3 separate regions of the Homo sapiens genome follow, and regions 2 and 3 are each linked to region 1. The links are contacts of gene promoters, found by promoter capture Hi-C in human tissues and cell types (Jung and others, 2019). All regions are on one chromosome and are shown on one strand. Each heading gives the region's core, a stretch centred on a gene start or on the middle of the fragment in contact. The rest is flanking DNA. Distances are from core to core; before and after follow the strand shown. Region 1 has its middle 16 kb from the start of DNAJC25. Region 2 holds the start of BSPRY (B-box and SPRY domain containing). Region 3 holds the start of TXN (thioredoxin).

Region 1 (4,829 bases), core at 849-3,348:
GATTGCAGACAGAGTCTCGTTCACTCAGTGCTCAATGTTGCCCAGGCTGGAGTGCAGTGGCATGATCTCGGCTCCCTACAACCTCCACCTCCCAGCCGCCTGCCTTGGCCTCCCAAAGTGCCGAGATTGCAGCCTCTGCCCGGCCGCCACCCCGTCTGGGAAGTGAGGAGCGTCTCTGCCTGGCCGCCCATCGTCTGGGATGCGAGGAGCCCCTCTGCCCGGCTGCCCAGTCTGGGAAGTGAGGAGCGCCTCTTCCCGGCCGCCATCCTATCTAGGAAGTGAGGAGCGTCTCTGCCCGGCCGCCCATCGTCTGAGATGTGGGGAGCGCCTCTGCCCGGCCTCGACCCCGTCTGGGATGTGAGAAGCCCCTCCGCCCGGCAGCCGCCCCGTCTGAGAAGTGAGGAGCCCCTCCGCCCGGCTGCCACCCCGTCTGGGAAGCCAGGAGCGTCTCCGCCCGGCAGCCACCCCGCCCGGGAGGGAGGTGGGGGGTCAGCCCCCACCTGGCCAGCTGACCCGTCCGGGAGGTGGGGGGCGCCTCTGCCCGGCTGCCCCTTCTGGGAAGTGAGGAGCCCCTCTGCCCGGCCACCACCCTGTCTGGGAGGTGTACCCAACAGCTCATTGAGAACGGGCCATGATGACGATGGCGGTTTTGCGGAATAGAAAAGGGGGAAAGGTGGGGAAAAGATAGAGAAATCAGATTGTTGCTGTGTCTGTGTAGAAAGAAGTAGACATGGGAGACTTCACTTTGTTCTGTACTAAGAAAAATTCTTCTGCCTTGGGATGCTGTTGATCTATGACCTTACCCCCAACCATGTGCTCTCTGAAACATGTGCTGTGTCCACTCAGGGTTAAATGGATTAAGGGCGGTGCAAGATGTGCTTTGTTAAACAGATGCTTGAAGGCAGCATGCTCGTTAAGAGTCATCACCACTCCCTAGTCTCAAGTACCCAGAGACACAAACACTGCGGAAGGCCGCAGGGTCCTCTGCCTAGGAAAACCAGAGACCTTTGTTCACTTGTTTATCTGCTGACCTTCCCTCCACTATTGTCCTATGACCCTGCCAAATCCCCCTCTCCGAGAAACACCCAAGAATGATCAATAAAATAAATAAATAAATAAATAAATAAATAAAAAGAAAAACATCATCCAAAGAGCACAAGAGAATTGTAACTCACATTGTGCAATTTTACCATTGTCCTCATATTCAGGATCAAGGATACAGATTGATGGAGAAAAGGTAGTGTCTCACTGGATTAATTCATTGTTGGATGGGAAAGGTGGGAAGCTCAGCTCATGCTTCCACAGCAGATTCTACCCTGACAAAATCTTACTCCAAAATTGGCATTTAAGCACACAAGTGTTATAGCTTCTGGCACTCATTTCATACAGTCTCACCCCAAACACTGCATAATCTGACTCTCATTCTCCTTGACTTTCTATTCCGGAACATCACCTGGCACATTTAACCTGTAGTTCAGGTTCTTCTACCCCCGAGATAGCTCTGCAAAAATCCTAGTTTTAGTATCCGGCTATTTGCAGCCCAGGCTGCATTGCTCTGTTCAATTTGTCCTAGGTCCTCAGCTTCTTTCTTTTTTTAGGTACTCTTTTTTTTTCTTTTAGAATTCTAGGTTGGAGGATGCAGGAGTATAAACTATCTTCCATGTATTCTCTTGCTCCAGTGTTTTCTGAAAGCAATTTTCCTTAGGGAGGTGCCTGGTAAATTCAAAATAGTTACTGTTAGCTTTCTGCCAGAAATATTCATCTTCGAACCTTCTTTTGGTCCACAGCTCTGGTTCTGTGACTACGTATGTCTCTACCACATTCCTCTACTGTGGGAGGAAATTCCTGGGCCCAAACCTCTGTCAGCTTGCATTACTTCCATTCCTTGGCATGATTCTACTAGCAGGTTAGATGTCACAGTGGATATCATAGCTAGGTTGTGCCAGGTTTACAGCCCACCCTCAGTGCCCACCTCCCTGTGTGTCTATGTACATCAGCTGTCCTCCTGAGATGAGAACGACCCACAAGGAAGTGTTAATCTGCAGCTGTGCTTCAGGGACAAATGGTCAAAGAACCAATTACCTCCTCATTTGCAATTGGCTATATTCTTTTTCTTTTGCCCTGCCTTGAATATATTTCTTGAATATAGACCAGTTAGAAGAGCTGCCAAGCTTTAACATATTTAATCCTAACTTCTGTGCATACACCATACAACATTAGAAATTCTGGTGGAAAATTTCCAGGACGAAATTTCTCTTAATGACTTCACTATTGCTAGAGGTTTTACTGATGTACAGAAGAGTTAACATAGCAAGCCTGATTGCGATGTTGGCCTTGGGCTGGTGTCTGGGAACTTGGATTTGAAGCGTGTCCCCACCATTCCCTAACTGACAAGGGTGGCCCATTCTGCCTAGACTATACAAACAGTGTGGTTTATGCTGAACACCTGCCTTCCTTTGGGGGGTCTGGAATTTTGGTACACGCTAGGCAGAGGGTGCCTTATGTGACTAGACCCTAGTAAAACTTTGGATGTTGAGACTCTAATGGGTTTCCCTCTAATAAGCAGAAACATTGAATGCTTACTGCTGGGGAAATATATTTTCATTGCTGAAGGAAGAGTGCACTGTGCAATTCCTCGTGGAGGGAGGGGGCAGTAGGATGCCTGCCCATGGATTTCCCCAGGCTCCACCTGAGTCTTTCTCCCTCCTCATTACATTGCCGTAATAAACCTTAGCCATGAATACAACTATAGTCTGGGTCCCGTGAGCCCTTCCAGTGACTCTCCAAACATAAGGTATCCTTGGGCACCCTCCACATGAGTAATTAGATTGACGAATCCCAATGTCTCCGATAGGGTCGAAGTCACTGGTGCCATCTCCCATCTATGTAACAAAGCTACTCAGTATGTCACAGAGAGTTTAATGAAGCCACTTGTTTAAGTTCTTACTTTTTTCTTTGTTGGTGTCCCCCTGAGCTGGAACTTGGGCATGAGCCCAAGAGTCTGGGCTGAAGTAAGATACAAGTAACCAACACTGAGCTGAGCACTCACTTTTCCCCTTGATCTTGAACCACTTACTGTCTTTGTGCATCTTAACTCTCTTCCATACAAAGCATTCCTTTCCTACAAAATTTCTCTGCCTCTCATATAAATATTTAAAAATTATTGGCCGGGTGCGGTGTCTCATGCCTGTAATCCCAGCACTTTGGGAGGCCGAGGCAGGTGGATCATGAGGTCGGGAGATCGAGACCATCCTGGCTAATACGGTGAAACCCCGTCTCTACCAAAAATACAAAAAAATTAGCCGGGCAAGGTGGTGGGCACCTGTAGTCCCAGCTACTCGAGAGGCTGAGGCAGGAGAATGGCATGAATCCGGTAGGTGGAGCTTGTGGTGAGCCAAGATCGCGCCACTGTACTCCAGCCTGGGCAGCAGAGTAAGACTCCATCTCAAAAAACAAAAAACAAAAAAACACAATTATTATTGTTAGGCTGGGTGTAGTGGCTCACACCTGTAATCCCAGCCCTTTGGAAGGCAGAGGCAGGTGGATCACTTTGAGCTCAGGAGTTCAAGACCAGCCTGGGCAACATGGCAAGACCACATCTCTACTAAAAATACAAAAATTAGCTGAGCTTGGTGGTGCGCACCTGTGGTCCCAGCTACTCAGGAGGCTGAGGCTGGAGAATTATTTGAACCTGGGAGGCAGAGGTTGCAGTGAGCTGAGATCATGCCACTGTACACCAGCCTAGGCGACAGAGTGAGGCCCTGTCTCAAAAAAAAAAATATATATATATATATATACATATATATAAAATTATTATTATTTTGGAGACAGAGTCTTACTCTGTCACCTGGGCTGAGGTACAGTGGTGTGATCATAGCTTTCTGCAGCCTCCAACTCCTGGGTTCAAGCAATCCTTCTGCTTCAGCCTCCTGAGTATCTATGACTACAGGCATGCACCACCATGCCCCACTCATTTTTTTTTTAAGTTTAGTAGAGATGGGGTCTCATTATATTGCCCAGGCTTGTTTTCAGATTCTTTTGAATGAAAAAATTAGGACACCACTGAGAGTTGCTAAAAAGTTCCTCCTAAGCGCCACCAGATGGATGCATCTGGTTATAAATCCAGGTAAGTAATCCAAATCAGCAGGTCCTACTCACCCTTACCCTTCCCACATAATTCACAAACCAAGGTAATAAGACCTCAAATAAGGAATGACGCCTGTTTCACAGTTCAGCATGACCAACAGCTGATATCTAAACAATGCCCCCAAGCTGGCAAGTAAAACCCAAACATAACCCAAAGCCATCTGTGGGTGGCTCCTCTGCCCTTCCGAGGTCTGATTAAATTGGAACAAATCCAAGTTCTATGTTCCATGATAGTCCAAAGTTCTCCCACAATGCCTGTGAGCTCCCTGGGCTTGCCTCCTCCTGCGTCCTGCTAGCTATTTTTAAATGTGAGCTCTATTTTGTTCCAAGATCATTAGGATATTTAGCCCCTTCACCAATTTCCACAAGAAAATTAATTCATTCCAATATTCAGAGGTTCCTTTTTTATTTCTTAGCCAGTGATTAAGGAATCCATTATGTAACCCAGAGCCATTCTCTCTACTCTTTTCTTAATTTTTCCTTCTAAAATGGGGAGTTCCATTTTCTTAATTTTTCATTCTAAATTGGGGAGTTCCAAATTTTTTTTCTCTCTCTCTCTTAGGCAAAGCAGTTCATGTCCTTCCTGGAAGTTTTAGTATCTGCCAGTACTGATGCCCAGTTTGCATTTTAAAAGCTCCTTCTAGCTGCTAGATGCTGAAAAGACTGAAAGGAGGCAAGGGGAT
Region 2 (4,829 bases), core at 1-2,500, 1.7 Mb before region 1:
AACAGGTAGGACGAACCAGGAGCTTTTGGGTGTTGCTGAAAAACTGAACCCCTCCCGAGCCCAGCACCCTATATAAGATGTGTTTATTACAGGTCACTCTGGGTAGGCGAAGTCCCCAGCCAGAGCCCTCAGGCTTCACAGCAGGGGTGAACTGCAGAGTCGGGTTGGGAGAAACAAGCTGTTTAATCAAATTGCAAGGAAATCCCCAGGGGCCACAGAGAAGCCCAAGGTGACTTCGACTCTCCCAATCTCAGCAGCTCAGGAGAATGGTGATGACAAGGAGGTGGCCACCCTGGAGCCGAGCTGGAAGTGGAGGTGGCGAGAAAGCCTGGGTGAAGGGGAATCCCCTGATATTCTCCCTACCCCCACCGTTTATCCAGCTGAAGCCCTTAAACCAGCCTGAAGTACAGTCAAGGCCAATCCTGAAAGCGAAAAAGAGATCACCGCACCAGAAGCCAGAAGGGGTTAGGAGCAGGGGGAAGAGGCGAAAGGAGGAGGGGGGCTTTGAGTCCAGGGGTTAAGGGATACGGTCGCGCTGGATTTTATCAGTGTCAGTTTCCACAGGGGCGGGAGCTGGGGCACACCCTGCGCTGAGAACTGGAGCAGCTGAGCCTTTCATGCCAGCCCCAGCTTCCTCAACAGAGCAATGGAAGGGGCCTGGGGAGCCTGGATCCCCTTATCGCTAAGCATTTTACCCACTATCTTATTTATTTCTCACAACTCTAATAAATACGCGCTATTATTATTGTTGTTGTCCCCAAACTACAGATGAAGACACTGAGGCTCAGAGTTACGTGACTCACAGGGAGTAGATTCGAACTCAGGCCAGCCTGACTTCAGAGGCCACACCCTTAACCGCCTAGTCCTACAGCCAAAGCCACCGAGGAGCCTAGGCTCCGGGGCCGGGTGTCGAGTCCGCCCAGCCCCAGGCTCCCCAGTCCCTGCCGGGTCCCGCCAGGCGCGCCCGGGGTCTCCGGAGCCCTCGCCTTCCGGCGCCCACACCCGCTCACCCGCAGCTCCTCGGCGCGCTCCTCCGCCCGGCGGATGCGGTGCCCCCGGCAGCGACCGCCCAACCCCGCGCAGGCGGCGCACACGGGCCGTCGCTCGGAGCCGCAGAACCAGCTCAGAGCCTGGCCGTGTTCGGGGCAGAGTGGCCCCGGCCCGGGCCCGGACCCGGACCCCGGCCCCGGCTCCGCGCCCTCGGCGGACATGGCCGTGCGCCCGCCCCGTGCGCTCCACCTGTCGCAGGTGGCGGCGGGCGGGGCCTGGCTGACCCCGCCCCCGGCCCTCCCGGTGCGCCAGCGCGCCCCGCAGCTGCGCCTCCTCCCACCCAACCCGCGCTCCCATCCCGCCCGGGGCAGCAGGTCTCTTTAAATTCCTTGTTGAATGAAATCGCGATTGTATGCGTATTTGTTCTACAACAAACATAAAACTCCAAATATTACTGTGACCGTAGGAAACTTTATTGAGCACTTATTAAGTGCCAGGCTTTCGCTGAGAGCTTTGCAAGCGTTCTGTTATGTAATCCCGACCACTGCCCTTTTTGAGAGGCAGCTTTAGATGCCTAGCTTCAAGCAAGGCTCTGCTGAGAAACTGCCTGGTTCAAATCCCGTTTGGCTGCTCACTGGGTGGGAACTCCAGCTGTAAAATGGGGTGAGAGTACCTGCCTCCCAGACGTCTGAGGAGTAAATACGCTAAATACGTAAAACAATATCTGGAACATAGCAGCTGCAATCGCTAAGTGTCTACTAACAGTGCGAGGAAAGTACTATTAGGATCCCATTTTTATGGAAGTTAAGTGGCTTGCCAAGGGTCACAGTTACTAATTGGTAGCTATGAGATTGGAACCTAGGCAGTGTGACTTAAGGTTACTATAATTAATAATTTTTTAAATTGAACATTGAGGCCCAGTGAGAAATATCTGTATTAGGCTGATTTTCCCAAAGTATTTACATCCAAACTTTTTGAATTTGAATATTTGAGTTTTCTTTTTAAACTAGCATTGAAAAAAAGTAATGCCTTTTTATTTCGAAGAAAACAAAATATGCAAATAAGCATGTGGAAGAAAAATCCACCCACTCCCACCCCAGAAAGAAAAACTGCTAACATGTTCCTGAGCTGTTTAGGGCTTTTCCCACCCTCAGGATCTTATATATTAGTCTGAGCCCAGATTGAGCCCTCTGCTGGGGATCCAGTCTAGTCTGTCTGGGCATACAAGGAGAACGCTGCTCTCCAGCTCTAAATTCTTCTTCTTCTTTTTTTTTTTTATTTTTTTTTATTTTTTTGAGATAGGGTCTCACTGTGTCACCCTGGCTGGAGTGCAGTGGTGTAATCATAGCTCACTGCAGCCTCGACCTCCCCAGCTCAAGTGATCCTCCCACCTCAGCCTCCTGAGTAGCTGGGACTACAGGCACATGCCACCGTGCCCAGCTAAGTTTTGTATTTTTCGTAGAGACAGGGTTTTGCCATGTTGCCCAGGCTGATCTCAAACTCCTGGGCTCAAGCCATCTCCCCCCTTCAGCCTCCCAAAGTGCTGGGATTACAGGTGTGAGCCACCGCGCCCGGCCACCAACCCCAAATTCTTTCTTAGGAGTCTTGGCAGAAAGCTGGGCACTCTCTCAAAAGGGGAAGGGCCCAGGCCTTCAGGTGTCAGAGAGTACTCTGAGTGCATCAGAACTGAACACAGGCGGGAGCTAAACCGAAAGAGAAACATTACATCCCATAGCTCACAGGGGCTCTAGCACCTCTACTCTGAAGCTTCTCTAAGCAATGGCCACACAAAGGAGATAGAACCCTTTCCTTCTCAGCCACTACTGCTTTAGCACCTGAGGGGTAAGGGCAGCTAACAGCCCCAGAGCTACCCAGAGCGGTACACAGTGGTGTCATCATCCAATGGGGACACATTGTCACCCCAGATAGACAATATTACACCATATGATTAGAGAGAACACTGAGTGAAATATAGTCATTGGTTTCATCCCAGCTATGCAGCTTACAGCTATGGGATCTTGGTCAGGTTACTCACAGCTTCTGTGTCTGTTTTCTTATCTCTACAACAGAGGTGATAATAATACTATCATCTACCTTAGAGGGCTACTTCAAGAATGAAATGAGATCTTGTCTACAAAGTATTTACTTTGGGTGTCTGATATACAGTAGGGGATAATAAAAGGTTTTATTATATGTGTGAGGATCTGTAAATACAGTTGTAGCAGGTTTCAGAATGTAAATTGTGTGAGGTTCTTTGGCGACAGGGGTGCTGCTTTCCTGGCATCTAAAGAAGTTTCCAGTGCATCCCAGTGGGAGGGTGATGGCCTCATAACAGCATCTACACTCCTCTGGGGGTGGGGAGGGAAATAGGCCATGGTAATTAGAGATTGTGGTTAGAATTTTTTCCTTCTAAGGACTGGGGATGGGGAATTATTAAACCCTATGGTGAAAACAAAGAAAATAGGAGGTGCTTTTTGTGTGAAGGCTAAAAAGAAAAGAGGTTGTGTGGCCAGGAGCAGTGGCTCATGCCTGTAATCCCAGCACTTTGGAAGGCTGAGGCAGGCGGATCACTTGAGGAGTTCGAGACCAGTCTGGCCATCATGGTGAAACCCCGTCTCTACTAAAAGCACAAAAATTAGCCGGGCATGGTGGTGCACACCTGTAATCCTAGCTGCTGGGGAGGCTGAGGCATGAGAATCGCTTGAACCCAGGAGGTGGAGGTTGCAGTGAGCTGAGATCGCGCCACTGCACTCCAGCCTGGACAACAGAGCAACACTCTGTTTCAAAAAAAAAAAAAAAGAAAGAAAGAAAGAAAAGAAAAGAAAAGAAAGAAAAGAGGTTGTGGAGGGCAGGGGGAGGAACAAGGGTTAAAATCCTTAGGGAAAGGTGGGGGGGGGGGAGGGGGGCCTTCACTGGGTGTGGCCCTAGAGCAGTCATTGGCCCTACCAGGTCCAGGATCTGGAAAACAGCCCCTAAATCACCAGAATTACTTTCAGGTAGTGGCATCAGCAAATGCAAAGGGCTAAGGTAGGAGTAGATTTACTTTTATCAAGTCGGGTTCCTCTGTTTCACCACTTATGAGCCAAGTTGGACTGGAACTGGAGAATCGCCCTTTCCCTATCTGTTCATCAAGCCCTGCAGGACACATCTGGGATACTCATAAACTCCCCGGTTATAGCTCTTAAGCTTTATCAGGCTTCGGAATCGTTGGAGGACAGGGGATGGTCAGGAGGGGAAAGAGGAGGAGTTGTAAAACACGCAGACTTTCCGGTAAGATTTTCATCCATTAAGTCTGGGATGAAGCCAAGAAGCTGCATCTGTGGCAGTCACTCCTTGACTAGGATGCAAAGGAGCCCCTTGACTGTTTCTAGAAACACTGCCCTAAGGCAGTGGCAACCCTTTATTAGGTGGCATATCAAGAAATTCAAGGGGTGGAGATCAGCATCTTTTATAAAAAGAAAGAAAAGGCTGGGCACAATGGCTCACGCCTGTAATCTCAGCATTTTGGGAGGCTGAGGAAGGTGGATCACCTGAGGTCAGGAGTTCGAGACCAGCTTGGCCAACATGGTGAAACTCCGTCTCTACTAAAGATACAAAAACTAACCAGGCGTGATGGCACATGCCTGTAGTCCCAGCTACTTGGGAGGCTGAGGCAGAAGAATCACTTGAACCCGGGAGGCAGAAGTTGCAGTGAGCAGAGACTATACCACTGCACTCCAGCCTGGGTGGTGGGTGACAGAGTGAGGCTCTGTCTCCAAAAGAGAAAAAAAGAAAAGAATAAAGAACAGAAAACATGCTCTTAGTAAGGTTTTTGTTGTTTCAATTACATATATATAGGT
Region 3 (4,829 bases), core at 1,734-4,233, 1.4 Mb after region 1:
TGGGTGTGGTCCAGGAATGTGCAGTATCATCGAGCACCTTTGGCTATGATGAATTAGGTGGTCAAGAACCACTCAGAGACACGTGGGATGTGAGAAAAACTTGTTTCAGAAATCCTACAATTACATTTTCTTCAAATTCGAGTTGAGACCCAAACAAAGACAGCTGACCCAGTTCTCCAGTCCCATGTGGAGGCTGGACTCAGCTGACCCAGGCCTGAAGCAGGCCCATCACCCTTGTTACATGTTTCCGCCCTTCTGGGTGACATAAAAATATCATTTTTGCTGGTCCGGCAGCAATCTCCCCTTTTCTGGTAACCCCCTGGATTTTCCCTACTCTTAGTGCAAAGCTTCAAGCAAGGCTAATCCCTTTCCCCACCATGAAAGTGAAGGTCAGCCTCTCAGACATTTATAAGAACAAGGAAGAGGAACACTCTTCCTGTAGAGATACTAAACTAGTAAGAACCTAAGTCTGGAGCTGCCTACTCCACTCTTACATAGAGTGCCTACTTGAGAATGAAACTAAGAGAGATGGTGCCCTTTGACATCATTAGGCCCCTGGGGTTCTTGCTAATCTGAGTTACTAATTCTCTTTTTGCTTTACGTCAGTTTGAGCTAGAATTTCTCCTTGCAACTGAAAATTCTGACTAACACACAGAGCCTCTACATTTCTCTGCACAAATGAACGCTTCCTCTCTGGGCAGTCCCAAATAATTCCCCTGTACCTCACTCTCCTCAAAGAACGTCACCTCCTTGCCACAAATGCAGGGAACCTGCTCCTTGGGACCAGGTGCAGCCCACTTTTCTTTCTTCCTTGCAGGGAAAAAAAAGGCCTTTTCCTTTGAGGCTTATGTTACGGAGCTCACTGTTCATTACTACTGTCTTCATTACTTAATTCATTTAAGACTGACACCTGTTTTATAATCTCTCCTTCCACCCTAGCTCTGCCATCATTCCAGATGGATCTCATCATTCATTTAATAGCCTATAATCATAGTTCATGTAGCATTCACTACACACCAGGCACGGTTCTAAGCATTTTACATATATTTTAGTTCACTCAACCCTTATAATAGCACAAGCTATTATTACGCCCACTTCTCACATAAGGAAACTGAGGCACAAAAAGGCTATTTAGACTTGCCTAGAGTTACCCAGTCATGAAGTGGTAGAGTAGGGATGAGGACAACGGAGTCAAATTGCAGAGTCCAGACTGGCCTCCCAGTTCCTTATAACTGTACCATCCTCCACATCTACTCTGCATTGGTGCTGTGGAGGTGGGAGAGAGGGAGTACCTCCTTCACTGAGTCACTGGACATTTGGAAGGTCTTTGGAGAGAAGTCAGCTGAGGATGGCCTGCATTGCCCCTTCCTGGAACTCAATGATTTGTTGTTATCACCCATGCAAATTCACCAACAAACAGATAAAAGTCAGGAAGCTGGGATGCAGCTGAACTGAAAACCCAGCAGCAGAAAAGCAGGTTATAGATTCTGCTCTGGGTGCTCCATACAGCTCCTTCCTCTCTGCCCCAATAACCTCCCTCTCTTTGGGAACATTGCTGCATTCAGGGCAGTCTGTCTTCCCTCCCTATGGGCTGTCTTTAGAATGTGTCCCTTGCCTATATCCATATTCATGCTCCGTGCTCCTCAGCCCCCTAGAAACTTTGCACAATAGATTCAAAACCTCTGGTTTCCTCCCTTCCTCTGTCTGAAAGAGTGAAAGAAGGAAGCCAGGGATTTCAGGGGGCAGCCAGGCAGCAGTATCACCACCCCTAGGCAATCACACCTAGTTGCAGCTTCATCGGGAACAGCTCAGCTCTGAAAACACAGACCTGGGACTCTCCCTCCCAGCCTTCTAGCTCTCGTTCCTGTGAGCAGCTTTTCAACCTCCACTTCCAGCCGCTGACAGGCCCTCCTGGCTCCACAAGGCCAGCTAACATACCCACCTTCCACAATCCCCAGCCCTGCCAGACATAACCTGCAACAGGCATTCCTGGATCAATGCAAACTCCGACTTCTGTTCCAGGAGTCTGCCTCTGTTAGAAGAATCTCACACAAGTGTGCGTGCTGTGCCATTGTAAATGCTGTATAAGGTGGCCAGGCCCAATCAGTCCCTGCAAGACACCGAACAGTAAGAACTATCTATGGAGTGTTTACTATGTGCCAAGCACCGTCCTTTGCAAGCACTATTAACCCTCAAAATACCACCACCGTGAGATTGAGACCATCATGATTCCCGTTCTACAGAAGGAAACACTGAGACTTCAGGAGGTCAGGACCTTTCCAGGGTCACAACTGCGTAACTAAGTTGCAGAGCTCAACCCAGTGGCACTTCCATCTCACACGCAGCTGTCTGATGGTCAAGAGCCCAACCAGTCCCCCGGTCGTTTCTACCGCACTAAACCGCTGTGTCAAGCTGGAGCAGCGGGCTCAGCAGTGAAAATGAAAGAACAGAAGGAGGTTACAGAGAAGAGAACGGTCACGGTAAATTCCGGAGAGGAGGCAAGGACGTACACACCGAGATACTTCCCGGTCACCGTTACTCAGCACTTTGTGGGGTTCACGTGGCTGGGGGGGCCGGGGCGTGGCGGCCCTTTTCGAGGAATCCAGCCCTGCCTGGGCGGTCCCCATCTCGAGCGTGGGCGTGTTCGATTCAGGCCCGGCGGACGCATCCCCAGGTGACCCGGGAGGGACCTTGTGTCTCTGGGGGTGACTGTCCGTCTCCCCGCCTCCCACCGTCACGCGCAGTGCTGATCCCCACTTCCAGCTGGAGTGCGAGCTGGGCTTGGGGTTACAGGAGCCGAAGCCCTGGAGCTCCGCCCCACGCTTGCGCCAGCCCCGCCCCGATCCCGGCTCGCAGGCTCCAGGGGCGGGGCGTGGCCGGGGCGCAGCGACGGGCGCGGAGGTCCGGCCGGGCGCGCGCGCCCCCGCCACACGCACGCCGGGCGTGCCAGTTTATAAAGGGAGAGAGCAAGCAGCGAGTCTTGAAGCTCTGTTTGGTGCTTTGGATCCATTTCCATCGGTCCTTACAGCCGCTCGTCAGACTCCAGCAGCCAAGATGGTGAAGCAGATCGAGAGCAAGGTACGCGCTACCGGGGAAGGCCAGGGTGCCGGCGCCGCGCGCGGCCTCTGTAACTGGGGAAGGCGGTGGCGGGAGGTGGGGAAGGCGGTGGCGGGAGGTGCGGAGGCCGCCCCTCCGCATCGCCAGGGGAAAGGGACGCGGCGTCTCGGCCTGGGACTGCGGGAAGCAGCGGCCTGGGCGCGCCCGAGGCGGTGGAGCCTGCCCTGGAGGAAGGGAGGAGAAGGACGAGGGTCCCCTGGAGGGCGGAGTGGCGGTGCCCAGCGTTTCTCGCACCCTGTTCCTCGGGGGATTGCACGCACGCGGGGAGCGTCCGGGGGATGTGAGAGCGCAGACAGCGTGAGGAGTCCCCACGCTGCGCCTCCTGCACCCTCCCGTCCGGGCAGCCCCGACTGGAGGAAGATGAGGGAATGGAAGGGGTCCGCCCTTGGCCCCCCATCTGTATCCAGATTCAGGCCCCAGGCAAGGATAGGGAGGGCCCTTGCAGAAGGCACGGGTCGGTGGCCGCCGCTGCCTTTCCGTATGTGAAGTGATCCACCCGCAGCGGGGGTAGTGATCTCCCTTTGGGAGCGGGTCTAGGCCGGAGACCCCCGCCTGCCTCCACCCATGCCCGACCCCAAAGGTGACGCGTGCTGTATCCGCACTAAGGGGGCGGATTGCGGCTGGAGACCCCCTGGCACGTGCAGGTCTGTCCAGGAGGCCCGAGGGCCCCAGGTGACCGCGAGGAAGTGAGGTCCGGGCCGCGCCCACGGGACTCCTGTGGCGCAGGGCGCGTTTCCGGCAGCAGTGGCTTTGGAATGACTGAGTCCCCAAGGTTGGGCCCGGGGGCCTCGGCTGCCCTGCCCGTCCATGATTCACCCTCAGTCGGTGGGTTTTGCTGGAGCCAGGGTTCCTCCTGGGAGCAGCCGCGCCCTGCTGCCTGCTCGCCGACCTATCGGTATCCCGATCGTTGTTTTGTCCTCTTAAAAATGCCCAAGGCGAAACAGCCTTCCCATGTTTGAAAGTTATTGCAAGCCTAAAACCTTGTAGACTGGGAAACCCAGAGCCTAACGCGCAGTGTCTAGTCCAATGTAGCCACTCCAGAAATATTTGTTAAATGCAGCGTCAGAAAAGTGAGTGGAGGAAATTGATACTGCTCGAACGGTAGAAGACCCCTCGCCAGCGCCTACCCTGCGATTACCCCTCCCTACCTGCGGGAAGCAGAGGAGGGCGGGTCCTCGCCCGCCTCGGGTGCCCTGACCTGTTTGGTGCCGGGTGGGCTTCGGAAACAGAAGTGTGTCTGCAATGTGTCCCCGATCCTTTTGTTCCTTTGATTATTATTGACTCTCAGTGTTTTTTCCTCATATGTTGATTGCCACTGTCATCTTTTATCTTCCTCTCAATCAGTTTTTTCTTAGTGGGATTCTCATTTTAGCAGCCCTCATGTGTTGAAAAGATCCTTAGTAGTGAATTGTCTTTCATATACTTTTTTTCCAAGCACCTATTGTGTGACAAATTATTAATCCATTCCTGGGGAAGGGAGTGGGGCTGGGATTCTGTTCTCCAGGGTCTGGCAACCTCAGTATAACCCAACTGCTAAGAACCCCCTCCACTGAGCCAGAAGACCTTTGAGTGGTCTATGTTAGTTGTCCCAAAATCCAGACACTACAAACAAAGTTGATTAGGATTTCTGGAGCACACAGTTTAGTCCTCCCAGTTGTCAGAGCATGTCAGAGCACCTTCCTCCTCTACCAGTGACAAAGGTGTACAAGGGT

The links. Contacts are between HindIII fragments. The study calls those that stand out against the background at their distance.
Region 2: the fragment with the promoter of BSPRY here is called in contact with a fragment that was not itself captured in region 1 in 1 of the 25 tissues and cell types used here (spleen).
Region 3: the fragment with the promoter of TXN here is called in contact with a fragment that was not itself captured in region 1 in 1 of the 25 tissues and cell types used here (dorsolateral prefrontal cortex).

Annotation. Positions count from the first base shown.
Region 1 is chr9:111,613,139-111,617,967 of GRCh38, reverse strand. It overlaps the pseudogene LRRC37A5P. Among named protein-coding and RNA genes, the nearest start is that of DNAJC25, 16 kb to the left of the region's middle. RefSeq lists an enhancer at 464-1,197. The HindIII fragment of the contact is 3,634 bases long and covers 282-3,915 here.
Region 2 is chr9:113,345,962-113,350,790 of GRCh38, reverse strand. BSPRY (B-box and SPRY domain containing) reads right to left here and starts at 1,250. Exons shown (of 6, transcript NM_017688.3): 1 at 1,011-1,250. The coding sequence starts at 1,211. RefSeq lists silencers at 903-1,182, 1,213-1,282. The HindIII fragment of the contact is 5,403 bases long and covers 1-3,467 here.
Region 3 is chr9:110,254,661-110,259,489 of GRCh38, reverse strand. TXN (thioredoxin) reads left to right here and starts at 2,983. Exons shown (of 5, transcript NM_003329.4): 1 at 2,983-3,078. The coding sequence starts at 3,055. RefSeq lists enhancers at 2,302-2,351, 2,392-2,591, 1,520-2,719, 3,462-3,791 and silencers at 2,732-2,971, 3,142-3,391. The HindIII fragment of the contact is 8,171 bases long and covers 106-4,829 here.